Linked DNA regions of Homo sapiens: regions 1 and 2 are each linked to region 3. Evidence: promoter capture Hi-C in 16 types of primary human blood cells and fetal thymus (Javierre and others, 2016). All regions are on one chromosome and are shown on one strand. The core of a region is centred on a gene start or on the middle of the fragment in contact, and the rest is flanking DNA. Distances in the headings are between cores, read along the strand shown. Region 1 overlaps TLL2 (tolloid like 2). Region 2 holds the start of TLL2 (tolloid like 2). Region 3 holds the start of SLIT1 (slit guidance ligand 1).

The links. The method cuts DNA at HindIII sites, captures the fragments that hold promoters and counts their contacts. A CHiCAGO score of 5 or more calls a contact.
Region 1: a contact is called between a fragment that was not itself captured here and the fragment with the promoter of SLIT1 in region 3, in 2 of 17 cell types (naive B cells and total B cells). The highest score is 5.9, in naive B cells.
Region 2: the fragment with the promoter of TLL2 here is called in contact with the fragment with the promoter of SLIT1 in region 3 in 1 of 17 cell types (naive CD8 T cells); the score reaches 5.2 in naive CD8 T cells.

Annotation. Positions count from the first base shown.
Region 1 is chr10:96,438,045-96,442,663 of GRCh38, reverse strand. The region is part of intron 3 of TLL2 (tolloid like 2); the gene reads left to right. Among named protein-coding and RNA genes, the nearest start is that of TLL2, 74 kb to the left of the region's middle. RefSeq lists an enhancer at 1-518. The HindIII fragment of the contact is 6,194 bases long and covers 1-4,545 here.
Region 2 is chr10:96,511,298-96,515,992 of GRCh38, reverse strand. It overlaps TLL2 (tolloid like 2), which reads left to right and starts at 2,067. Exons shown (of 21, transcript NM_012465.4): 1 at 2,067-2,482. The coding sequence starts at 2,308. RefSeq lists enhancers at 2,217-2,286, 3,476-3,995. The HindIII fragment of the contact is 13,060 bases long and covers 1-4,695 here.
Region 3 is chr10:97,182,196-97,187,278 of GRCh38, reverse strand. It overlaps SLIT1 (slit guidance ligand 1), which reads left to right and starts at 1,320. Exons shown (of 37, transcript NM_003061.3): 1 at 1,320-1,801. The coding sequence starts at 1,605. All of the region lies in intron 11 of ARHGAP19-SLIT1 (ARHGAP19-SLIT1 readthrough (NMD candidate)), which reads left to right. RefSeq lists enhancers at 475-975, 976-1,476. The HindIII fragment of the contact is 4,998 bases long and covers 1-4,705 here.

The DNA of each region.
Region 1 (4,619 bases), core at 199-2,698, 740 kb after region 3:
GGGTGATGATAGCAGTGCCCTAGTCTGCAGTTCCCCCAAATGGCCCTGGTTTGTTCGAAGCGGATAAGGAATGTGCAGGCTAGGCCAGTCCCTTCACTCTGCATTACAGCAGCAGACAAGCATGTCTTTAAGCATCCAGGGCAGTCCTGAAGAGGAAGGAAATCTCGAAGTGAGGTGAGGGCAGGCCGTTCTAACCAGTCCCTCCATCCTTCCCATCCCAACCCTCAGGATGCTGTCGGCGCCAGCGCTGGATGCCTCTTGCTTTTATTTGAATGAAAGATAAGACACGTTGTGTCAATCTCAGGTTCCCTTTAATCACAACTTGCCCCCCTTCCACCACCCCCAGGAAAAGAGACCGCCCAGGCAGGAGAAAGGATCTGAGGGAAGCGCCCAGTTTCGGCAGCAGGTTTATTTCCTGGCATTATGTGGCTCCCCTCAGCCCTGACGGTGGGGATTTGTGCCTCCAGCTTTGGGGAGGGGGAAAGGGCTGAAATGCTCACTCAACATCCCCTCCGGCAGACCCTTTGGTCAGAAGGCTCTCCCTCCTCTGGAGATGAGAGCTCAGCATGCATTTCAGGGCTGATAATGGGATTAATGAAATGGAGTGTGCAACTGCTCCATGAATGAAGCTGTGACTGTTTTGATAGAGCCTGATTTCCAGAACCATATTCATGAAAGAGAATGGACCTTTCACTTTCAGTAACATTTCCTAGGGGCTTTGTGTGAAAGCAAATAATAATGGAATCTGGTTGAACCAGAGGACAGGCATCCCACAAACTTGGGTGCAAAACAGCACTCGACGCTGGAATTCCTAACATCACTTACGTCAGTTTACTTGGGTGTAACAACTGAGCCCCACGAACTTCAGGCCTTCCTTTTTAGCCTGTCTCAAATGCAGACTTTCGTAGCCATTGTGGCAGCTCACACTGAGCCCTTACTCACCGCAGGCATTTGACATTCATTACCTGGGTCACCACCGCCCTGCAGCAGGAAGTGAGGCTCCGAAGGGGAAGTGATTTGTCCAAAGCCATGTAGGTAGCAAATGGCAGCATTTATCTTGAGCTTAAGTCCCCCTGACCCCAAACCCCTTGATCTTAACCTTTGGGCTGTATCAGTGGTTCCCAAACTTCACTGAGCTTTGTAATCACCTGGGGAGCTTTAGAAACTGCAGGTGCCTTGACTCCACTCTAAGGCCAATTGATTCTCAGTCTCAGAGCAGGGAGGCAGACACCAGAATTTTTTAAAAGCTCCCCAGTTGAATCTAATGTGCAGCCAGGTTTGAGAACCACTGTGCAGAATGGTCTAGTCTCCCCTTTACTTAGCGGCCTTCAGCCTTTCGAGATTGCTGCAGGTGAGGTGCAAATTCACCCATCACCTTTGGGGTGAGGGTTATGCAGATGGCTGGGCTGTCAGCGTGTTTACTTCCCGTGTGGGAATGACCAATTGCCTAATCTAAAAATTGCACTTCCTCACTGGAGAAGGCTGCCTCAGGCCTGGTTCTGTTTATGACATGGCTGTGCCTTCAGCTGGAAATAGAAGATTGAAAAGCAACAACCGCTTTGCTCTTTCAGAGAGGACAGGGCTCGCTCCCAGAGCCAGAGAATTTAAATGGGCTTTATCCCCCCTCAACCCTACCCCCAGCGTGTTAAATCCTGTCAGACGCCCTGAGCTCCTCTTCAAATGCAGGACTCTTGGCCATAATAAATAATTACATCCTTCTATTTGGACTCCGATTCCAGATAGTAGTAATCCAAGAAAATCCAATAATGACAGTTGCATTAAGATCCTTCTTCCAGGCTAAGCAGAACATCTGTTTAGACATATTTTTAATCGGCAAATGCTTCCTGTGTTGAGTCCTTAGCAAATTAAATTTCTCACTGGACCAAAGGGGAAGCTGTCATTCAATAACCCATTTCTGGAAATTACACCCTAGCTTCTTTCCAGGTGCACTTAAGATTTTCCCATGCTGACTTGGCTGCATAAAACAGACCCTTATAATACCAGGTCACATGTATATGCAGCACAGCTTGTCAGAGAAACACGGAGTATCTTAGTGTTATTTCTTTGAATAGAGAAGTATTTTTGCCCATTCTCCAAAGGAGAGTTGGCGACAGAGGAAAATTAAGAGACTTGTTGAAAACCATATGGGAAATGAGTAACAAACTTCCACTTGCTACATTGCTGCCTGTGATTACTTAAGACTGGATAATTCTCAGGATGTAAACATTAAGGGCTTCAGTGTTGCCAACATTTTGGAGAGGTTTCCAACACAGAGTTGTTTGGACTGTTGGGCTGTTTATTTTTAGAATAGCTCATCCCTTCTTTAATTCATACATTCAAAATATAAAAATATTGAATGCTCACCACCAGTCAGGCACCATGCAGGGTGTGGAGAATAAAGTGGAGAACAAGCTGGCAACATTTCTTGCCCTCATGGAGCTTCCAGTCTACCAGAAAAATTCACATTTGACATCTTGATGCAATTTGTAGTTTAGGGCTGGAATAGCAAATTAGAATATCTTCCGTAGAGGGCAGGTAGGTCATCTAAAAGGTGAAGTAAGCTGAATAGGACAATGTGAAGGGGGAGAGAGATTCTAGCAAACAGAACATGTGCTCTGACTATGGAGAGCAGGTGCTTCTAAACTCCAGCTGGTTGTACTATGATGGAAGATGGGCCTGCTGTTGCCAAATCTTTCAGTTTTTAAAGAAAAACTAGAAAATCTGGATTCTTATGTGAAATCCCTTGATTTTTAAAAGTTGGCTCGTACAGGGAGATTTTTAAAAAAACATAGTGTGGGCCAAAAGTGTCCAGGCCAAACAGAAACACATCTGCGGGTTGGGTTTATCCCAGCACTGCAAGTGTATGACTTCTGTTCTAGAAATTCTGGTGGTAAGATAATTATTTTCAGGTTTAACAGTGTATTACATACCAACTTTCTGGGTCTGGAAATATGACCAACTAGATGAGTAGGAACCCGTTATACAAGTAGAGGAACACTGAAAAAAATATTACCTTTTCACCACCCCAAGTGAAAAATACAGAGTTGAGTTCAAAGGAAAGAAAGGTGAATGGCCATGATCAGAAGCGAATAAGGAACATAACTCACAGAAGGAAGCCTCAGATGTTGGTGATGTTAGCAGCAGCAAATCCATACAGGTCTGCAGCAATTTGATTCTTGCCTCCTCGGAGGAAAGAATTCAGCCAAGGGGCATAAGGCAGAGAGAGAGAGAGACCCAGGCAAGTTTTAGAGCAGGAGTGAAAGTTTATTGAAAAGTTTTAGACACCTGTAATCCCAGCACTTTGGGAGGCCAAATAGGGTGGATCACTTGAGGCCAGGAGTTCAAAACCAGCCTGGCCAACATAGTGAAACCCTATCTCTACTAAAAACACAAAAATCAGCTAGGCATGGGTGCACATGTCTGTAGCCCCAGCTACTTGGGAGGCTGAGGCAGGAGAATCTCTTGAACTTGGGAGGTGGAGCTTGCAGTGAGCCGAGATCGCACCACTGCACTCCAGCCTGGGCAACAGAGTGAGACTCCGTCTCAAAAAAAAGAGACAACCCTAAAACCGAATTAAACTTACATGCAGAAATCCTTAAAAAAATTAGCAAATGAAATCCAACAATGTACAAAAAAGAATTATACAGCATAACCCAGTGGGATTTATTCCAGGTATGCAAGGCTGATTCAACATTTGAAAATCAGTCTATAGAACCCGCTAAATCAACAAGCTAGTAAAGAAGAATCCTATTATCACAGCAATTGATGAAGAAAACACATTTAACAAAATCTAACACCTATTCACGATAAAAACTCAACAAATTAGGAATAGAGAGGAATTATCTTAACTTGATACAGAGTGTCTAGAAAAAAACCTACAGCTTACATTATACTCAATGGTCGAAAGACCAAACACCTTTTCCCAAGACCAAGAACAAGGCAAGGATGTCTGCTTTCGTACTGTCATTCAGCATAGTTCTGGAAGTTCCAGACACTGCAGTAAAGCACGAAAAACAAAGAAAAGGCAAACAAGTTGGAAAGGAAAAAATAAAACTGTCCCTGTTTGTAAATGACATGTTTGTCTACATAGAAGATCCTAAGAAATCTATTAAGGAAAAAGAAAAGCCCAAAAACCTCCTAGAACCAATCAATGAGTTCAACAAAATTTCAGAAATACAAGGCCAGCACATTTCTATATTGGAAATATAAAATTCTATAATGGCTCACATTTCTATATTCTAACAATGAACATACAGAAACCAAAATTAAAAATACAATGCCATATACGCAATCACTCCAAAGAAGATGAAATACTTGGATATACAGTTAACAAAATTCGTACAGGATTTGTGTGATGAAAATTAAACAATGCTGCTGAAAAAAATCAAGACAGACCTAAATCAGTGGAGAGATATGCTGCATCCCTGGTTTGGAAGATGCATAGAGTAGAGGTGCCAAGTTCTCTCCAGATTGTTCTATAGGTTTAATGCAATTTCTATCTCAACATGGTTTTTTATTTTCATTTTTTGCAGGCATAGACAAGCTTATTCTAAAATTTATATGGAAAGACAACTAAAACAATTATGAAAAAGAAGACTGAAGGGGTGTAATCACTCTAC
Region 2 (4,695 bases), core at 818-3,317, 670 kb after region 3:
TTTTCATGGTTTTTAAATTAAAGAAAAATACATTATAAAAATCATCTAAACCCAGATTAGAGTTTAGCTTTTATAGTTCTATCTTATGGTGTCCCTTTTCAATTATTCTTTTCTGATCTTTCTAGTGAACCAAATATTTTGTTGCCATTTATTGGTTGATAGCCAAAGTAGCAACTAAACTGGCCTTCTACTTTAATAACATAAAACTGTGCAGCTTGTTCATTCTTCAACACCACTGTCTTCAAAATATTTGGACAAAGGGTGTTGGTGAGAAGACCTGGCCACTACTCACCAGCTGGGCATTAGAGGTCATAAAAGCTCACAACCTCATTGCTTGCACAAGAGGTGGCCTCTCATGTCTATTTTCCAGAGGAATTCCCTTCTAATAAGGAAGCCAGTTGGTGGTTTGCCTAGTGCCATCTGGAGACCTGGAAGTGTCACAGAAGTTTGTTAGGCCTTTTAGATGTTGACTCTTTGGACTCGTCTACTGAGAGGTGATGACCTTCATGGGGGTGAATGCAGAGAGCTATGGCGTTGGGTTTGACTCCTGGCTTTCAGGCAGAAATGCATGCCATTCAACCCCCTCCCACTCCTTTGCCTATGCGCTGGCCACTTGGCCTTCCTGCCATTTGGTGGCATTTATCCTCTTCAAATTCCTTCCTTCCACCTGCCAGTTTCTAACCAGATCTTGCCCTGTCTGGCTCCATTCTGTATGTTATGTGCCCATTTGATGAAAACAGCATGAGGCAGGGTCAACATTGCATTTCTTTCTAAGAACGAGGACAAAATATGAGTAGCATCCTTCCAATAGTTAACTTTTAGCCCTTTACTTGTGTGAAGGACTTGTTATCCCAGTTGATAGATGAGAAGACAGATGACCATAAGTGCAAGAAATTCAGAGTTTGATGTGAAGCCCAGCTCTGGGCTCCCTGTTGACTATTTTGTCATTGATGTATGTGAAACCATGTGGAAATCCAAAAGGAAAGTTGTCCATTTTTCTGCTTGCAGTTTAAATTGAAAAAAGATTCTACTGGGCATGATGCAAAACATTTCTACACATACACATTTGTGTGTTATAGTTGACAGGGCCATTTTACTTGCATAAAAAGATCTTTGAAAAGCCTCACAGTAATAATACTTTTTATATCTCTAAATCAAAATGGCTCAGTTCTGAGAATTTTTACATTTTAGGTACAAAATAGAAGTGGGTTTCAAATAGCTCTTGATTAGTGTCATTATTTGGGCATATGTTTTTAATTGGCAAAAAAAAAACAGACTTCAGAAATTGGTCATTTTTATTCCATCAAGTTAACGGTGAGTGGCTTATTTAATAAAAACATGTCTGTAATTTAACACAAGTAGCACGTACAGCTGTTCATTTGTGTCTTTTTGACTGTGTGAAGCATCTTAGACGGTTTTACTGAAAGATAGGGTCACCGAGAGGGGAAATCTGTGGACTTAAATCTTTTTTCATTACCTATCGCCGGCCACTAGGTTAGGTTAGTTGCCGCCAGCAAGCGCCCTTCATGGCTCGACTAGGGAATGTGGAGAGAGCTGAGAGAATCGAAATCCTCGATTTTTTTTTCTTTGCTGAGAGGGACCTGAGAGACATTCACTCATCCCTGCAAAGAAGCAGCTGCCCGAATGCACATAGCCAGTTGGTAGTGACATGAATCCGTACACAGGGCTCCTGGTCCAGCGCTCCGAGTTCTAACCACTCTGGCCACGTGTGCATCGGGGAGTTGTAAAGTGAGTTATGGAAATAAAACAAGGCGAGAAGCCCAGTCCCGATCTTCAGGAGCAGCATTCTCGGGAGCCAGAGGCCGAGGTGGCGCCCCGGGCAGGCGCCTTAGGCTGGGTGGGTGCGGAGCTGGCCCCGGCCTTTGGCTCCAGCATCTTCACCTCGCTCGCCTGCCTCCGAAGTTGCGAAGGTGCCGGGAAGAGGAGGGGCCTCGCCTCGGGCGCCCGAGTGATTGGCTGCTTAGGGCCCCGGGCGAAGGCTGTGTGGTCCAGCCCTGGTGGAGAGGGGCGGAGCGGCCACTGCTCCAACCACCGCCGCCACCGCCACACTCGCAGCCGCCGCAGCCTCGGCCGCCGGGCAAGTAGCTCCGAGCGGCTGCTTCCCGGTTGCCTCGACGAAGACAGGGGGCGCCGCGCTCCGCTTGCTCCGCGCCTGAGCCATGCCCAGCAGCCCTGTGTAACCACCGAGTCCCGGCCGGAGCCGACCGACCCAGTGTGCGCCGTCTTTCGGCCGAGCTGAGCTTTCGTGCACGCAACTCCCTCTGCCCCAGCCGGCCCCGCGCCACCATGCCCCGGGCGACTGCACTTGGGGCCCTGGTGTCACTGCTGCTGCTGCTGCCGCTGCCTCGCGGCGCCGGGGGACTCGGGGAGCGCCCGGACGCCACCGCAGACTACTCAGAGCTGGACGGCGAGGAGGGCACGGAGCAGCAGCTGGAGCATTACCACGACCCTTGCAAAGCCGGTAGGTGCCGCCGCTGGGGAAGTCCCGCAGAAGTTTGCCTTTGAAATGCAAATGAGGTGGTGGGCAAGCCTGCACTACCGTCTATGGGGCGGGTCTCCCCTCCCCTCCCCTGAGATCCCCGGCTCCCCCGGAAGACAATGCCTCCGAGGAATTGCTTAAAAACCACTCCGAGGCTGGGATGTCCCGGCCCCAGGTTTGCGGTGCGCACCGGGGGGCGACAGCTGGCGCGTTCCCAAAGCGAATCAGAGCGGGTGCCAGAGGCCGAGAGGGCGCCCAGGGGCCGGGGTGGGTGCCAGGGCCGCCTGACAGCGAGTGGGCAGCACTGGCCACCGCCAGACGCTCCGGGCCGGAGCAGAAGAGCTGGACTGGGCGCGGCGCTCCGAGGCTCAGATGGAGTTCCTGGCTCCGATTTCACAGCATTTTTAAGTTTCGCGCAAAGTTTCCCAAGATCTGTGGTTACTCTTGGGAGATTTTAAAAAGAAAAGCGTCACAGCGGGCAAAAGGAAAGGGGTCGCCGAGGGAGAATGAGCAAGACTCGAATAGCCGGAAACTTCCCTGTAGCGGTACCGGCCTGAGGGTCGCTCTGGGCGGGCGGAGATGGAAGCCGGCAGGTGCTCTAATCCCTCCAGGAAGCGGCGCCCCAGGACGTACGGGCCTTTCGGGCGCAATCGCCGCCCGGGCGCTGCAGCTCCCGCTTCCTCGGGGCCACTGATCGGCTCGTGAGTCCTGAGGGGAGCGGCTTCCGAGCTGGAGTCGTTGAAGCGTTAGCCTCCGAAGGGCCAAGCGCATGTTCCAGCAAGCTGATGAGTGTGGGGCAGTTCCAGCACGGACAGAGGGGTGCTCACGCTCACGCTCCCAGGGAGATGCTGGGCTCAGAGGCTCGCACAGACGCTCCTGGCCCATGGCCAGTGTCCCGCGAGTAGTGGTGTTTATCTCCGGCTTTGTGGGGCCCCGTTTCACTTGGCGGTCGGCAGAGAAGAATGGGGAGGGAAGAGCGCGACCTCCACCCTCGGCGAGGCAGGTGCTCCTTCCCGGGGCTGTGGCCGGCCAGGTCTCTGCGGGGCCTGTGGGCCAGTGGTTGCCCCTTCACGCCCTGGAAACCTCTATCAGTTCCAGGTTACTCATCTCTAAATTGGTGGCAGTAATTATAGGAGGACTCAGGTGATTTGTGGGAAAATTCTCTGCAAGTGAAATGATGGCATTGTCGTTATTTTTTATTGTTTCTATCACTGCAGTGGCTCGGGTCTAGGCTGGGGGTTGGGAGGGTCAGAACTGGGTAAAGTCTGGGGAAGACCAGGTTACTAGGAGGCAGGAGGAGTTTGTGAGACTTGAGAATCTTGTGAAGGTTTGAGATCAAACTAGTCTTGAGGGGCCTGGTCTTAGTAAGGGAAGTTTCCTGCAGAATATCTACCTACTGCTGTATCTCTTGGGGCTTCTGAGTTAGGAAGGTGGGCAGAGGAGTTGGTTCCTGGACAACTGGAGAAAACCTCAGCAGGTAGCATGCCTGGCCCAGGTACCATGAGTTCCTTATGGGACCTAATTCAAGGCCAGGGAGAAGAGGCTCCAGAGCACTATTGGAATGGCAGCCTGGCCCTGAAAAGAGGGCCACTGAAGCTGGGAAAATAGGTGTGGGATAAAGGGAGTGGCTGGACCACCTCCCCCACTTGTCAGATCCTAGACCCTGCTGGGTGTGACCTGGGGACTCTGGGAGGCAGTGTGGGCCGCTGAGGCCCGGAGTGGGGAAGTGATTGATTTGCTCAGGAATGTATTGTGCATCTCCAGTATGCTGGGTGCTGGTCTGGGCACTTGTGAATCCAGATGTGAAAGAGGCATGCCAGCTCCCCGTCTCAGCCTTGGAGGATAACCCTGAGGCAGGCTTGCCTGTTACAGCCTCATTTTCCCCAGTAATTTTAGAGAAAATGCAAGATAATCAGGGGCACGCATATTCTGTGATTCTTCACAGACAGAATGGGATGCACAGGCAGGGCTGGAAGGCAGAGGATATGGCCAGTGTGGCTTCAGCCAGCTGCAGGCACCCTCCTCAGACTCCTTGAATTCTCCCAACTCATTGGCCTCTCCCTGGGCTACACTGATGCTAAGAGTGGCCAGAAGAGGGCGATGATAAGGACAACCTGGGGGAAAAGGTAACATCTCAGTCCGCCCATCCTCTTGGAAATTGCCTGACCTGGAGAACAGCTGTCTGGAAGGCCAGC
Region 3 (5,083 bases), core at 71-2,570:
CCCCTATCCCCACCCTGCCCGACACTCTCCCCACCAAATGCGTCCATGCTGTGTCTGGACCCAGGCCGCTCCTGAGACGGGAGGTGCTTCTCGGGCTACCCAGCTGTGTCCTCTTGCCAAGCAGCCTCACGTCAAGGCCCCGACTGCTGGACACTGCCCCAGCGAGCCACAGCTGTCCTTGGCGTTGAGGAGATCTTTCGTCTTTTCTGGGGTTGAGGAGAATTCTCTCCCCACCTGGATGTCCCGTTCACACCCACGTCCACACATGCCTTACGGTGACGAAGGTCCCTACCCAGCCGGGTGTGAGGCCTGGGTCTGACGGGGCTGGCCTGTGGGGTTCTCTCCCAAGCAGGCCGCCCAGCGCTATGCCAGCCCTCTCTGTCTCCTTTGATGTCAAGATGGAATATTCATTTTCATCTGTTTCCACCTGTCAGAAATGGAGGAACGCTGGTGTGAGTGGAGGAAGACGTTTGCCAGATTTCCAAGTCCCCTTAATGTCTGTCCCTCTCTTCTACAACGGGGGAAGAAGCCCGTGTAACTGTATGGTACAAATACGCCCTGCTGAGCAAGTGTTCCAATCAGAGCCATTCTCATCCTGGGCATGCGGCTAGCTTGTTCCCCTCTGAGAAGTGGGTGCATTGAGGTAGGAAGGAGACTGTACTCCGCCTAGCGCTTTCGTGGACCCTCCCCCCCGACAAAGCTCCATCCTCAAAGTCCAGGCTAAGTAAGGTTGGTGGCTTGAGGATGCTACCTGGGGCACAGGCACAGGGTTTCCCTTAACCAAGAATTGACACAGCGAGTCGGGTGGGGCCGAGAGGCCGCTGCTGCCGTCGGGGGATGGGGGGAAACGGGTCTGACTCCCCGGGAAGGCGTCCAAGCGGCAAAATAAGATCTCCCTCCCACCCTGGACTAGCAGCTGGGGCCGCGGGTGCCGGGGTGCGTGCGTCTAAATGTGCGCATCCTCGCCGTGTGTGTGTGTGTGTGTGTGTGTGTGTGTGTGTGTGTGTGTGTACAGCCAGGACTTGGCGGGTCGAGTCACACCCCCTTCCCTCTTCTCCCATCCCCCGCAGCCCCGTGCCCGCTGACGGCGCCTCGGAGGTTCCACCTTTGAAACTGTAGGCGGCTTGCAGCCGCTGAGTGGTCGTCGGGAGAGGGGGGCTGCGGCGGGGGAGGGCGGGGAGGAGCCTGGCCCTGGATGTGTGCTTTTCGATTGATGGATGACTGCCGGGTGGGAGCGAGCGCGCGGGTGTGTGTGTGATCGTGTGTGTGTGTGTGGTGTGTGCGCAGGGTGCGTGCGCGCGCGGGGCCTGCCCATTTTCCTCCTCGCAGCAGTCAGTTGGGAGCTGGAGGGAGGGAGAGGGAGACGCAGGCGGCGAAACGGCAGAGGAGCCGAGCCCCCTCCGCCCAAGGCGCCCTCCCTCCGTCCGCGCACAGGCGCCGTCGCTTGGAGGAGCAAGGTGCCTCCCAGCCCGCAGGGGCGCCGCGCGCAAGCCCGCGGGCTCTTCGGTGGCTCTGCCCCGGGACTGCACCTGGAGGCGGCCCCGGACGGGGATGGTCAGCGGCTGCTGCCGTCTGGCTCGCGAGCGGGACGCTGTGAGGGCACCATGGCGCTGACTCCCGGGTGGGGGTCCTCGGCGGGGCCGGTCCGGCCGGAGCTCTGGCTGCTGCTGTGGGCAGCCGCGTGGCGCCTGGGTGCCTCGGCGTGCCCCGCCCTCTGCACCTGCACCGGAACCACGGTGGACTGCCACGGCACGGGGCTGCAGGCCATTCCCAAGAATATACCTCGGAACACCGAGCGCCTGTGAGTATGGTCCCCGCCCCTGGCTCCCTGGCTCCGAGGTTGCCCTCCCACCCAGACGCAATTCCGGACTTGGGGGTGGGGGCAGGACCATTGGGGCCCGTCCGGGCTCCGCAGCCCACAGACGGGTCAGTGCCTGCCGGGGTCTTTCCCGAGCCAGGAGCCAGGAGCGCCGTGGTTTCCCCATCCCTGGGATTCAAAGGGCCCTCGGCGGGGTTGTCAGCTTCCGTCCTCACACCTGCACCCTGCACCCTGCACTCCGCACCCTCAGGCCCTCCTCACTGCGCCAGCGCTTTATTCCTCCAGGGTGCCTGCGAACTGGTGTCAGAAAGCCTTCCTTGCACCCAGGAGGGACACTTCCCACACTCGCCAAGCACAATGTCTCCTTTTGGGCACATGGGGCTACGGCCGCGTTCTGAGCCAGCTGCGCAGATTCCCGCTCCCAGAGCTTGCTCCTGACGAAGGGCAGCAGGGTGGGATGGAGGCGAAGTTTCTGGTCTGCCCCTTCTTCTCCATTGTTTGCCCCAGAGCCTTGAGAATTCTTCCCCTGCAGGTGCCACGCGTTGGTCCCCTACTCACCCGCCTCCCTCCACACCCAGCCATCCCCAACACAGGCAGACAATGGGACCTGAGGGCTTTGGGTATGGGGCTTGGGGTATGTAACATTCAGCACCCGAAAAGGGGCAGGTGTGTCTTGGATGGAGAACCCGGTGGATAATGCCAAGAAGTCAGGAGCTTGGAGAGGGGGGCCCAAGGTTAAAGATATTGACCATGACAAGTAATAAAAAAATAGCATTTCTCTTCCCCTGTTCTGTCTCACTTGTGAATTCTTGAGGAAACTTGATCCTTTTCTTTTCTAGACCCAGTAAGCTAGTAGAATGTGTGTGTGTGTGTTTGGGTGTGTTTGAGTGTGTGTATTTACAGACCTTTATACTTTGTTTTCTGTGACTCTCCTGCAGAATGTGTTTCTGTGTGAATTCCTAGTATTAAGGGGCCACCTTAATAGCGTGAGGCCATGAGAGTCCCCGTAATGGGCTGTGTGTGTGTAGATTTTGGTCACATGCAGGGCCTTTGTACTGCTCGCAGAGGTGACTACACCAGGAGATTTTTGAACAGGGCTTTGGAGAAGGCTGCTGGCTCCTTTGAAACCTACCTACTCCTCCTTCCCACACTCCTCGGTGACTGCAGTGGCTCTCAGGAAAGGTGTGCATATTTTGATAACTTTCGAGCACATTTTCATGGCCCCCAGCTGGTCAGAGACAGAAATCTGACCCTGAGGAGAGCTGTCTCCCGAATCAGACTCTGTACCAAGGCCAGCAATTAGTGAGCACACATTTGCCCCAGACTCTTCTTGGCTGCATCTGAAAAATTCCCGTGGAGGTTTTAGAGAATTTGCAATCTAGATGCAATCTAGATGGGAAGTGTGTGTGTGTGTGTGTGTGTGTGTGTGTGTGTGTGTGTGGTGCATGTGTATGTGTGTGTGTGAATGCTTGTGTGTTACAGGGCTGGGGAGAGGTGGTACCAAACTGAGTTTCTGTGGGCAGCGTGTGCATTATCCTGTGTGGACCCAGAGAGGATCTGAGGGTCAGAAATCTGTCCAGAGGACCCCCGCAGTGGCCTGGTCACCCTCCATGCCTGTCCCCTCTGTACCTGCTCCCTGCTCCCCTTGCCTTGTCCACTGGAGTTTCTCCTGAAGCTGCTACCCTGGTTGCAGCCTAGATCTAAGACACATTAGCCCTTCTTCTTTGCTTTTGAATCTTGAGTCTTAAAGTCATCTCCTCCCTCTTTACTCTCTCACCACCTTTAGTGTTTAAGACTTCCATGAACTCTTTAGCTCTTTTGTGATCAGAGTGAGATGAAAATGAAATTTCCTAGTACAGAGGAAAGAGGTGGCATTCTGGGAGCTATACTGCCTGGTTCCCCAGCTCTGTCACCTATTAGCTGTGTGACCTTGGGCAAGTTACTTAACTTCTCTGAACCTTAGTTGCTTTCCATCAGGAAAATGGGGCTGAGGCTACATAAGGTCTCTGGTTCTTGTGAGGATGGAAGATCATGTATGGGAATTGCCTGGTACCTTCTGATGCTCGCTAAACGAGAGCCATTATTATGATAGGATAGGGAGGGGAATCTCATTATTTTAATTCAGCAAATGTTTCGGAGCCAGGAACTGCCCTGGGTGCTGAGGCGTCAGCAGGGAGTGAGCCCATCCCTGTCCTCAAGGGGCACATGGTCTAGAGAACTGGGCAGAGGACCTCTAATGGTGAGCTCTCAGGAGAGGGCCAGGCAGCCTCAGGGAACGGACTGTGGGAACACTGGGGTGAGAAGCCCTTTTCCAGGGTGAAGGGGTTTCTCAGAGGATGGGCCACTTTATCAAGGTTGGTTTGGATTTTGCCAAGCACAGAGGGCAGGCAATCTAGGCAGAGGGAACAGCTGGGCTCCAGGCCCAGCACATTCTGCTGCTTGTCAGGTCATGGGGCCTGCTTTCTTGCAGACGTCTTTTTTTTTTTTTCCTTTTTTGTAGAGATGAGGATCTGGCTATATTGCCCAGGCTGGTCTCAAACTTCTGGGCTCAAGCAATCCTCCTGCCTCCGCCTCCCAAAGTGTTGGGATTACAGGCGTGAGCATAAGCAAAAAGCCAGCAGGTGTGAGTATGAGCCAAAAACCTGCGGGTGTAAGCATGCCTGGCCCGATATGGGCAGATGGACCAGCTTGTCCCTGGGGCTGAAACATGCTCTGGCCAGTGGCCAGTGGGTGGGATGGGACTTGAGGCTGGAAAGAGATGTTGGGAAGGGTCAGGAAGACTTTCTATATGTGAACTTTTCCTCTGGGAACTTCCTAGTTGGAAGCCAGGGGTGAGTTATCCTGGGGAAGTGGAGCAGGTCTGATCTTTGCCATGTGGGCAAAGCTTCCTGGACTGGGAAAGCGCAGGGAGCCCGCCTGTTCTCCAGGCAGCCCGTGAAAGAGCTGCTCAAAGAGGAAAAGAACATCTTGAAAGAGGCCTTGGTGAGAGCCCAGGCAGACTCAAAATAACTGTGGCAAATGCTCTCTCTAATCAATATGAGTGTTGTGCAGTATCAGAGCCTGAAACAGTGGCTTCTTCTGAGGCTGTGAAATTTTTATGGACTGCAGCTGTGCATTTGCCTTTTGTCCTTTGGGCAGTTTCTGCGGCAGCCTGCGAGGCCCAGCAACTTTATGATCATATATTCTATAACTCTGGGTCCAGGCCTGTCCCCCGAAATGGAAAGAAATGGTCATTGGTTTGCTGTGGGGACTTCTGGAAAGAGG